4 separate regions of the Homo sapiens genome follow, and regions 1, 2 and 4 are each linked to region 3. The links are contacts of gene promoters, found by promoter capture Hi-C in human tissues and cell types (Jung and others, 2019). All regions are on one chromosome and are shown on one strand. Each heading gives the region's core, a stretch centred on a gene start or on the middle of the fragment in contact. The rest is flanking DNA. Distances are from core to core; before and after follow the strand shown.

Region 1 (2,700 bases), core at 159-2,658, 1.3 Mb after region 3:
ACTCAGAAAGAAAGCATATTTTCCACTGCTCTTACCTCCTGTCCCACCTGGCCTGGAATCTATATTCTCATCCCATGACCCGATTTTCCAAGAGCTTTTTGGAGAATGTGGTGAGAAAGTGGTGAGGCACCTAGAATCTAATCAAATAAGGAGCAGTAGAAGGTACCAGACCTGTAACAATCAATTAGTCAGTCAATGGGCCTGGTTTGGCATTTTTTCATGGTTCAAATAATTGTCATAGAGAAAATGTTACAAATGATGGGAGGGGAGTCTTAGACATCTCTCCTCTTGGCAAGCTTACCTTCCATATCCCTGCCCAAAGCTGCAGAGGTTGCTATTTGGATCAGTCCATGGTTGCCAGCGGGTGGTGGGTTCATTGAGTTGTAACAGGTAGGTACTGCCTATGTATGGTGCTCCTTCTTTTTCTCACTTTTTATGTCTAAATGCATAAGCTAAGTCAAGGATTCCCTTGAGACCCCCTCTCTCTCTCTTTCTGACTCAGTATCAATGAATGGGTAAGTAAATTCAGGTTTGCTCTAGAGATTTAGCCAGCTTTTTCTTACATAGGCTATGTGTGTGACTTATCATGGCCCTGATAGAAAATAGAATTCCATTCCCAATGGCTCAAACCTTTAATAAAGATATTATTTATGGAGGTGTGGGGAGGGTTCAGGAAATCCACAAAAGATAATGAGACACCAAGGGACCAGCAAAAATGAGACTCCAACACTACTTCCCAAAGCTGGAAAGTGCAAGGTAAGAAACTGGCATTTGAGAGCTCAATGAGACATGGAGCCATGGAGAAGGGGGCTGCGCTAAAGGAGCCATAGACGCGCTGAACTTCTACAAATACGAAGGCACCAAAACAGGGGTGAGGCAGAGGAAAACATCTCAGCTGCTTTTTCCTCCCACTGTCTGAGCTTCTGCAAGTGCTGTCGTTGTTTTATCTCAATGGGAAGCGAGTCAGTAAAGGGGTCCCGGTGATGTGGTATATATATGTCCAGCCTCCTGGGGTACCAGGCATGGCTTAGAAGGCTGAAAAATGTATGGGGGGCAGCTACAGAATAACCAGCAGATAGGCTCACATGAGGCTGTTTACCAATTTTATGTGTGTATGTATGTATGTATTTTTAGCACAAGGTCTCACTCTGTCACCCAGGCTGAAGTGCAGTGGCACCATCATAGTTCACTGCAACCTCGACCTCCTGAGCTCAAGCAATCCTCCTGCCGCAACCTCCCAAGTAGCTGGGACTACAAGTGTGTGCCACCATGCCAGGCTAATTAAAAAAAAAATGTTTGTGGAGATGGGGGTCTCGTTATGTTGCTGAGACTGGTCTTGAACTCCTGGCCTCACAGGATACTGCTGCCTCAGCCTCCTAAAGTGCTGGGATTATAGATATAAGCCACTGTTCCCAGCCTAATACTTAGATTTAGGGAAAAGAGGGGCTTGATGTTGGGTTGAGATCAATCAAAGTATCTATTAAGCCTCAAGTATAAACTGAGTGTCCCAACTCAGACTTTCACCAGAGCTCTGAATTCAATGGACTGGCACTGGTGCAAGTATTTTTTTTTAATGCTGTTTTGATTACATGTGTATATTCCTTAGCCTCTTCATGGTGAAATTAGAGGGAGTATTGTGTTTATATTTGGGTATTCCTGGGTCCTTGATCATAAGCTATCCAATATCATTAAACCTAGGCCTCAATTCCAATAGGATGGATGTCAAGAGCATAAACTTATAGTGTGAGATTGGCTTTTCCAGTTAGTAGGTGTGCAATCCAATACAAATCACATAGGGATAAGAGGTTGCTTGACCGCTGCATTTCCTCATTTGTAAAGTACCAATCTTAATTGTATCAAATTTATTTTATTTATTTATTTTGAGGTGGAGTCTCGCTCTGTCTCCCAGGCTGGAGTGCAGTGACATGATCTCGGCTCACTGCAACCTCTGTCTCCCAGGTTCAAGCAATTCTCCTGCCTCAGTCTCCCGAGTAGCTGGGATTACAGGCGCCCACCACCACACCCAGCTCATTTTTGTATTTTCAGTAGAGATGGGGTTTCACCATGTTGGCCAGGCTGATCTTGAATTCCTGACCTCAGGTGATCCACCTGCCTTGGCTTCCCAGAGTGAATTGCATCATATTTATTTGCTGCTATGAAATTTCAAGTGAGATCATATGTGAAATCTTTGGACAGCGCCTGGTAGGAAGAGGTGGAAGAGGAGGAGGAGAAAAAAAAAAAAAAGAAAACTGAACTGCTTAATCACCTATAGACCAAGTGATAGAAACAGGCTAATGAATCGAAGTTGTAAAAGGGTAGGTTTGGGCTCATTGTGAGAAATTGACTTCCAAAGCCCACACGGCATGTAGGGATGGAAAAGGAATGAGCCTCTTGTCATTAAACCATGTTCAAGTTGGGGCAGAGCGACTTCCTTGTCAGAGATGTTGCGGAATCAGCCTTTGTACTGGGTAGGAATTTGATTCAAATAACTTATTGGTTTGGTTCCAGTGACATTCTTTCTTGAAATCGGGAGCACCAGATTGAGGCCAAATCAAGCTGCAGGATTCTGTGTACTCTGGGGAAGACCATTCTCTGAAGAGCCTAAATATTTGGTTCTGGAAAACAAACAAACCAACAAAAAAAACCTAAAAAGTTACTTCTCTCTGGGCATTTCCCTGGAGCACTTTGAAGGATGTTCAC
Region 2 (2,700 bases), core at 70-2,569, 1.4 Mb before region 3:
TTGTCTCTGCAAAGAAAATACAAAAATTAGCCAGGTGTGGTGGGGGCATGCCTGTAGCTCACTGTAGCCTCGAATTCCTGGACTCAAGTGATCCTCCTGCCTCAGCCTCCTGAGTAGCTAGGACTGTGATGTGTGCTACCATACTTGACTATTTTTTTTTTCTTTTTGTACAGATGAGGGTCTTTGTGTATTTCCCAGGCTGGTCTTAAACTCCTGTCCTCAAGTGATCCTCGGCCTCCCAAAGTGCTGGGATTACAGGTATAGGCCAGCATGCCCAGCCTAACCCATTTTAGACAACCAATAAGTTTTATTTTTTATTTTTAAATTTTATTTTTGGAGACAGAGTCTTGCTCTGTTGCCCAGGCTGGAATGTAGTGGCGTGATCATGGCTCACTATAGACTCCACCTCTTGGGCTCAAGCAATCCTCTTGCCTCAGCCTGCCAAGCAGCTGGGACTACAGGCACATGCCACCACACCTGGCTAATTTTTTTTCTTATTTTTATAGAGACGAGGTCTCACTATGTTTTCCAGGCTTTTATCGAACTCCTGGGTTCAAGTGATTCTCCTGCCTTGGCCTCCCAAATTGCTGGGATTATAGGTGTGAGCCGCCATGTCCAGCCCTAATAAATTTTAATAGCCAGCTCCACTTCTCTAGGAGAATGTCTCTTTGCCCATTGCTGGACATTTCAGCCTGTACAGTGTGCCCCTTGGTCTGAAGAAATGACAGTTAGCTGCCCAAATCCATGTACTATTTTTGATCCTGTTTTTTAATGGCATCGTGAATAGTTGCATCTTCCATTGGGTAAGCAAGGCCCAGTGCAGAGTCAGTGTCTATTATTGTCAAGACCCACTTGTGGTCCCCCAGGGCTACCAGTGTCGGTCTCACTTGCCAGCTACGTTCAGGGCCTTCCCACCAAGGAATCTTTTCCATAGCCCTCAGCAGCTTCTGTCTCTCTTGCTGACAAACAGAACAGTCTCACTGGCATTTTGTACCTCAGAGGGCACAAGAAGAACCTGTCTAGATTCAGCCCGTCTCTGCACTGCTGCAGGGCCCTGTCTCATAGACCCAGCTGGCCCCCACAAGGGAGCAAATGGGGATATCTGCTTGTCGATTCCAATCACCTTCCAAACCCGGAAGGAGGTTCTTCTGATGGGCAGCCCATGTCTTACTTTAATGTACTCTCACACTTCCATAGGGCTGTCCCCTATAAGGGCATCTCTTTAATAGGCCAGGTTTCCATGCCCTCCTGCCTGAGTATGGTTAGGTCTCTGACCACTGCCCATGAGTTAGTAAAAACCCAAACACAAAGACTTTTTATTACTGTTCAATCTTTCCATCACTGCTAGGAAACCACCATGCAATTCAGCCCACTGAGCTGATTTGCTTTTACTGTCTTTGATCAGAGTGGCATCTTTCCAAATAAGATGTTGTCTATTCATCTTGGAACTTGGAACTGTCACCCATACTCCATGCAGTTTTTTTGTTTGTTTGTTTGTTTGTTTTGAGACAGGGTCTCACTCTGTCACCCAGGCACCCAGGCTGGAGTGCAGTGGCATGAACACGGCTCATTGCAGCCTTGAACTCCTGGGCTCAAGCGATCCTCCCACCTCAGCCTTCTGAGTAGCTGGGACCACAGGCATGCACTTGGCTAATTTTTAAATTGTTTGTAGAGAGGAGGTCTTACCATGTTGCCCAGGCTGGTCTCCAACTCCTGGGCTCAAGCGATCTTCCTGCTTCAGCCTCCCAAAGTGTTGGGATTACCAGCGTGAGCCACCATGCCCAGCCCCAACCAGCTGTTATTTGAGAACTGTTTGTAGGGCACTATCCAAGTGACAATAGAATCCAGCAACGCCTCCCACAATTCCAAAGTCTATCTGAGGGGAAAAGAGGCTCTCTGCGTGTATTTCTTCCTCGCATTCCCCAGGTAGAATGATCCGCTAAACCATTTCCATTTCATCATGGATCTCTGCTGCACAGTGTCACACTCATTACAGTGTTTCTCTGATGTCACTCCAGTCATCGAGGGTGTTTTCCACCTTCCTGGGATGAATCCTTTGACTTTCTTGTCTGCATTTCCCCATTCTCTTATTAATTAATCTGATTTTTGTTATTGTTGTTGTTGAGACTGAGTCTCTCTCTGTCACCCAGCCTGGAGTGCAGTGTGATCTCAGCTGACTGCAACCTCTGCCTCCCAGGTTCAAGCGATTTTCCTGCATCAGCCTCCTGAGTAGTGGGACTACAGGCATGTGCCACCAAGCCCTGCTAAGTTTTCTTTGTATTTTTAGTAGAGACGGGGTTTCACCATGTTGGCCAGGCTGGTCTTGAACTCCTGACCTCAAATGATTTGCCCACCTAGGCCTCCCAAAGTGCTGGGATTACAGGCATAAGCCACCGTGACTGGCCCAGAAAACATGATAAGGCTTCTTGAACTACCTTTTGATTTTGCAGCAGCAAGGTTATACGGGGCATCCACATTACAGGGGTGCCCTTAACCACAGCATTTACTATGACCTTGGCAATGAGCACATTCAGCTGGTGAATATCGCGATTCTCATAAAGCCAGGCCCACATGACTTGCATATGAAACACATCAGCTGCTTCTTCCGAGATGCACTACTGGATATTTATAGGAGGAGACAGAGTCCCCCTTCTCAGGGAGAACAGATCTTACAGTGGCTTTTTTTTTTCTTTTTGAGAT
Region 3 (2,700 bases), core at 198-2,697:
TTACCCGTATTATCTCATTTAAACTTCCCAACGACCCTATGACATGGTGAAACCACTAACATCCACACCTAACAGATGAGAAAACAAAGGCCCAGAGAGGCCAAGTCATGTGCCCAAGGGTTACATAGCTAGTTTACAGCAGAGCTGGGATTGAACGCCAGGCAGCCTATTTCCAAAGTTCATGGGTCTTGCCGCTGCATTGCATTACCTCTTGCCAGTCTCTGCTGCCTCTGTCTGTGAAGGATCGTCATCTATACACTCAGTCCTGGCTCAGGCTGTCACGGTGACTGCAGGTGTTTGAAGCTGTGGGACTCATTGGAAAAATAATTGAAAATGGGATTGCTGTTTCTTTCTTTTCTTTTTTCTTTCTTTCTTTCTTTTTTTTTTTTTTTTTTTTAGACAGGGTCTCACTCTGAGGCTGAAGTGCAGTGGCGCGATCTTGGCTCACTGCAACCTCTGGGTCCTGGGTTCAAGTGATTCTCATGCCTCATCCTCCTGAGTAGCTGGGATTACAGGCAAACACCAACACGCCCTCTCTTTCTTTCTCCTTCCTTCCTTCTTTTCTTTCTTTTTCTTTTTTCTTTCTTTCTTTCTTTCTTTCTTTCTTTCTTTCTTTCTTTCTTTCTTTCCTTCCTTCTTTTCTTTCTTTCTTTTTCTTTCTTTTTCTTTCTTTCTTTCTTTCTTTCTTTCTTTCTTTCTTTCTTTCTTTCTTTCTTTTTCTTTCTTTCTTTCTTTCTTTCTTTCTTTCTTTCTTTCTTTCTTTCTTTCTTTCTTTTCTTTCCTTTCTTTCTTTCTCTGTCTTTCTTTCTTCTTTCTCTTTCCTTTTTTTTTTTTTTCAGAGCCTTGCTCTGTTGCCCAGGCTGGAGTGCAGTTGCACAATCTTGGCTCTGCGCAATCTTCGTCTCCCAGGTTCAAATGATTTTCCTGCCTTAGCCCCCCAAGTAGCTGGGATTACAGGCGTGCACCACCACGCCCGGCTGAGTTTTGTATTTTTAGTAGAGACGGGGTTTCACCGTGTTAGCCAGGATGGTCTCAATCTCCTGACCTCGTGATCCACCTGCCTCGGCCTCCCAAAGTGCTGGGATTACAGGCGTGAGCCACTGCACCTGGCTGTTTGCTGTTTCTTAACATGTGAGGTTCCAACCCAGTGGGGCCCACTAACATGTGCTGTTCTGCTTTGGACCGTGGGGAGCTGGGGTGCTGGACCCATCTCCCACCTTCTACAGCCTGGAGTGTGCTCCCAGATGACACAGCCAAGCTGGCGTGTTTTTCCCTCACTGGCGGAAAGTTCAGCAATCCCTGACTCCCTCACCCTGCCCTGTTGAGATTTAAAAAAATTTCCTCTTCTGGGCCTCAGAGCCGCCTCCTACCTGAGGTTTATTGCTTTCTCTGCACCAGCATTGAGCCTCTGCAGCCCTTTAAAAGGGGCAGAGCCCATAGTGTGATCAGCAGGTCCTGTCCCTAGGAGATAAGAGTATCTTGCACAGCAGGTGCAGGTTTCCCAGCAGCTCAGGCAAGAGTCCGATGTTTGTGCCATCTGATCCTGATGTCTGGAGAGGTGAGCCCTCTGTCGGCATCTTCCTCTCCAGGCTGGCAGAGCAAGGGGGGCTGTGAATTAATTCAAGGTTGGGGGTCGGGGCCTTCTATATCTGGACTTGCCTCCCACCCGTGTCCTCTGTCCCTTTTTCCCTACGGCAGATAGCCATGTGTGAGCCTGAATTTGGCAATGACAAGGCCAGGGAGCCGAGCGTGGGTGGCAGGTGGCGAGTGTCCTGGTACGAACGGTTTGTGCAGCCATGTCTGGTCGAACTGCTGGGCTCTGCTCTCTTCATCTTCATCGGGTGCCTGTCGGTCATTGAGAATGGGACGGACACTGGGCTGCTGCAGCCGGCCCTGGCCCACGGGCTGGCTTTGGGGCTCGTGATTGCCACGCTGGGGAATATCAGGTGAGACCAGCTCTGAGGATTCAGCCTGATGCTGACTTGGGGCACTGGGTGTGGAAAGCAAAGGCGTTGTCAAGGACCCCTGGGCGCATACGTATTCGGGATTTCAAGGAGCGCTCTGGATAACTATGGGGTTGGGAGTCAGACTGGGGTCAACTCCAGACCCCGCAGCCTGTGAGCTTGTGACTTTGAGCAAGTCATTCTCTTTTTGAGTAGCTGGATCACAGGCATGCGCCGCAGCACCCAACTAATTTTTAAATTTTGTTGTAGAGATGGGGTCTCACTATGTTGCCCAGGCTAGTCTTGAACTCCTGGTCTCAAGCGATCCTCCTGCCTTGGCTTCCCAAAGTTTTGGGATTACAGGCATGAGACACCATGCCTGGCTGGCAAGTTACTCTCTAAACCCAAAGTTCCCCGCCTATAAAATGGGAATAGTAGCTTTTAAATGTTTTTTTTTTCAAGCCAACATATCTATATTGCTAACCATGTACCAGGCACTAGTCTAATTACTTTATAGATATTAGTTATTTAATCCTCACAAAAGCCTTGTGGGGTAGGTCCTGTTATTAGCCCCATTGTACAGCTGCAAAAGTGAAAGGCCATGTAATCTGTCCAAGCTTAGAGGGCCAGAAAGTGGCAGAGGCGGGAGTCAAGAACAAGCTGTCTGGCTCCAGCGCTCAAATCCAAGTGCCTCATGCGGAAGTCATGAGAATTAAATGAAGTAGAGCGCCTGGCACACACCAAACATACAACAGGC
Region 4 (2,700 bases), core at 77-2,576, 1.9 Mb after region 3:
TCAAAAAAAACAAGAAAAAAAAAAAGGAAGAAAAGAAAAAGAAAAGGAAAGAAAAGCTCAGTAACTTCCCAGTGCATCTCATTGAACTTAGCATGGGCACCCACCTGATCTCAATGCACCCAGGAGTTGGCATTCGAGGGCAGCAAGGAGCATCCCTCAGACTTGGATGCAGTTATACACAGCGCCACAGCAGCACGCATGGCCTGACGTCAAAGACTGGCTGAGAATCTCAGAAAATCATGGATGTCCCCTCCCCAACACCCTGACCTCCGCCCCTGCCGAACTTAGGGGTAACCCCAAGGAATGTAAGGAAACCTAAATTGATTGGAAGAATGGACACAAATTAAACATGGTTATGAACTTTGTTAGTCCATTTTGCATTGCTGTAAAGGAATACCTGAGGCTGGGTAATTTATTAAAAGAAAGGAGGTTTATTTGGCTCAAGGTTCTGCAGGCTGTGCAAGCATGGTGCCAGCATCTGCTCAGTTTCTGGTGAGGCCTCAGGAAGCTTTTAATCATGGCAGAGAGGAAGAGGAGCCAACGTGTCACATGATGAGAGGGAGCAAGAGAGACATGGGAGGTCCTAGACTCTATTCTTCCTTTAATTTTTCAACTTTTGTGGGTACATAGTAGTGTATATATTTATGGGGTACATGAGAGATTTTGATACAGGCAGGCAATGCATAATAATCCTATCAAGGTAAACGGGGGATCCATCATTGGAAGCATTTATCCTTTGTGTTACAAACAAGCCAATTACACTCTTTTAGTTATTTATAAATGTGTAATTAAATTATTATTGACCATAGTCACACTGTTGTGCTATCAAATCTATCAAATACTAGGTCTAATTCTCCTTTTTTTTTTTTTTTTTTTTTTTTTTTGAGATGAAGTCTCGCTCTGTTGCCCAGGCTGGAATGCAGTGGCATGACCTCAGCTCACTACAACCTCCTCCTCCCAGGTTCAAGTGATTCTCCTGCATCAGCCTCCTGAGTAGCTGGAGCTACAGGCACCCACCACCACACCTGGCTAATTTTTGTATTTTTAGTGGAGATGGGGTTTCACTATGTTGGCAAGGCTGGTCTTGAATTCCTGACCTCAAGTGATCCACCCGCCTTGGCCTCCCAAAGTGCTGGGATTACAGCCATGAGCCACTGCACCTGGCCCTTATTCATTCTTTCTAACTATTTTTGTACTCATTAGCCTTCCCAACTCCTCCCCGCCACCAACCGGCACCCCCCACTACCCTTCGCAGCCTCTGGTCACCATCTTTCCCAGGCTCTAAATTTTTAACGGCCAGATCTCACATGAATAGAATGAGAACTCACTCATTACCACCAGGAGGGCACCAAGACATTCATGAGGGATCTGCCCCCATTTCCCACTAGGCACCACCTTTAACATTGGGAATCACATTTCAACATGAGATTTGGAGGAGACAAACATCCCAACCATAGTGTGAAGTGAATGAATAAAGAGAGTGATATTTCCCATGCACCTGAGATGTGGACTGACATTTCTACCACATGGTACGTTGCCAGAATCCTCCATTGGGTGTGTGTGTGTCTTGCGACTTGAATGAGCCTGAGAAGCCTTGAGACTTCTTCCTGGGCCTCGGAAGGGCTGTCCTTATCAGGGACAGCTATTCTGCAAGAACTCTGCATGGGGAAGAGTAGAAATGACTGGGGGTGTAAATGTTGTCTGATTAATCACAAGAGAAAGTGCCTCTTAGATGGAGCTGCCCAGTGATGGAAAGGACTACCATGAAAGGAAGCGAGTTTCCTATTCCTGCAGGTATGCAAGTGACACTGTCAGAGGTGTGGAGAAGTAACTCCTACCTGTGGAGTTTGCCTGACTAAAATAACACTGAGGCCCCTCTGAAGCTTTATAGGCTCTGAGTCTTCCAGCAGAGCCCAGAGTGATGTTGGGTAATCAGAGACGGAATTAGCTGAATGCATGGGGAGGGGAGGAGGAAGAGAGAAGGAAGAAGAATAGGAAACAGTAAGGGAGGAGAGTAGGAGAAAGGAAATAAGGGTCCCAACTGAGAAGGCCCAACATTAGTCAAAAGTTTTTCAAAGAAAGGCCGGGCGTGGTGGTTCACGCCTGTAATCTCAGCACTTTGGGAAGCTGAGGCGGGCAAATCACTTGAGGTCAGGAGTTCGAGACCAGCATGGTCAACATGGCAAAACTCCATTTCTACCAAAAATACAAAAGTTAGGCGGGCATGGTGGCGTGCACCTGTAATCCCAGCTACTTGAGAGGCTGAGGCAGGAGAATTGCTTGAACCCAGAGGGCAGAGGTTGCAGTGAGCTGAGATAGCACCACTGCACTCCAGCCTGGGCAAGAGAATGAGACTCCATTTCAAAAAAAAAAAAAAAAAAAAAAGTTTTTCAAAGATAATATTTCCCAAGTGGGGGCCACATGTTCACAACAGTCAGAATAGCTTAAACCAAGCTTGTCCAGCCTGCAGCCTGCAGGCCACATGCAGCCCAGAATGGCTTTGAATGTGGCCCAACACAAATTCAAAAACTTTCATAAAACATTATGAGATTTATGCATGGCGCTTTTTTTTTTTTTTTAGCTTATCAGCCATCATTAGTGTTAGTGTATTTTATGTGTGGCCCAAGACAGTTCTTCCAATGTGGCCCAGGGAAGCCAAAAGATTGGGTGCCCCTGGACTATGCTGCAGTAACAAATTAA

The links. The method cuts DNA at HindIII sites, captures the fragments that hold promoters and counts their contacts. A contact is called where the count stands out against the background at its distance.
Region 1: a fragment that was not itself captured here is called in contact with the fragment with the promoter of AQP8 in region 3 in 1 of the 25 tissues and cell types used here (dorsolateral prefrontal cortex).
Region 2: a fragment that was not itself captured here is called in contact with the fragment with the promoter of AQP8 in region 3 in 1 of the 25 tissues and cell types used here (aorta).
Region 4: a contact is called between a fragment that was not itself captured here and the fragment with the promoter of AQP8 in region 3, in 1 of the 25 tissues and cell types used here (dorsolateral prefrontal cortex).

What each region holds. Positions count from the first base shown.
Region 1 is chr16:26,506,996-26,509,695 of GRCh38, forward strand. No RefSeq gene overlaps it. Among named protein-coding and RNA genes, the nearest start is that of LINC02195, 87 kb to the right of the region's middle. The HindIII fragment of the contact is 3,334 bases long and covers 1-2,700 here.
Region 2 is chr16:23,791,171-23,793,870 of GRCh38, forward strand. No RefSeq gene overlaps it. Among named protein-coding and RNA genes, the nearest start is that of CHP2, 37 kb to the left of the region's middle. The HindIII fragment of the contact is 5,063 bases long and covers 1-2,700 here.
Region 3 is chr16:25,215,500-25,218,199 of GRCh38, forward strand. It overlaps AQP8 (aquaporin 8), which reads left to right and starts at 1,448. Exons shown (of 6, transcript NM_001169.3): 1 at 1,448-1,558; 2 at 1,699-1,946. The coding sequence starts at 1,547. The HindIII fragment of the contact is 27,087 bases long and covers 1-2,700 here.
Region 4 is chr16:27,115,814-27,118,513 of GRCh38, forward strand. No RefSeq gene overlaps it. Among named protein-coding and RNA genes, the nearest start is that of C16orf82, 50 kb to the left of the region's middle. The HindIII fragment of the contact is 3,082 bases long and covers 1-2,700 here.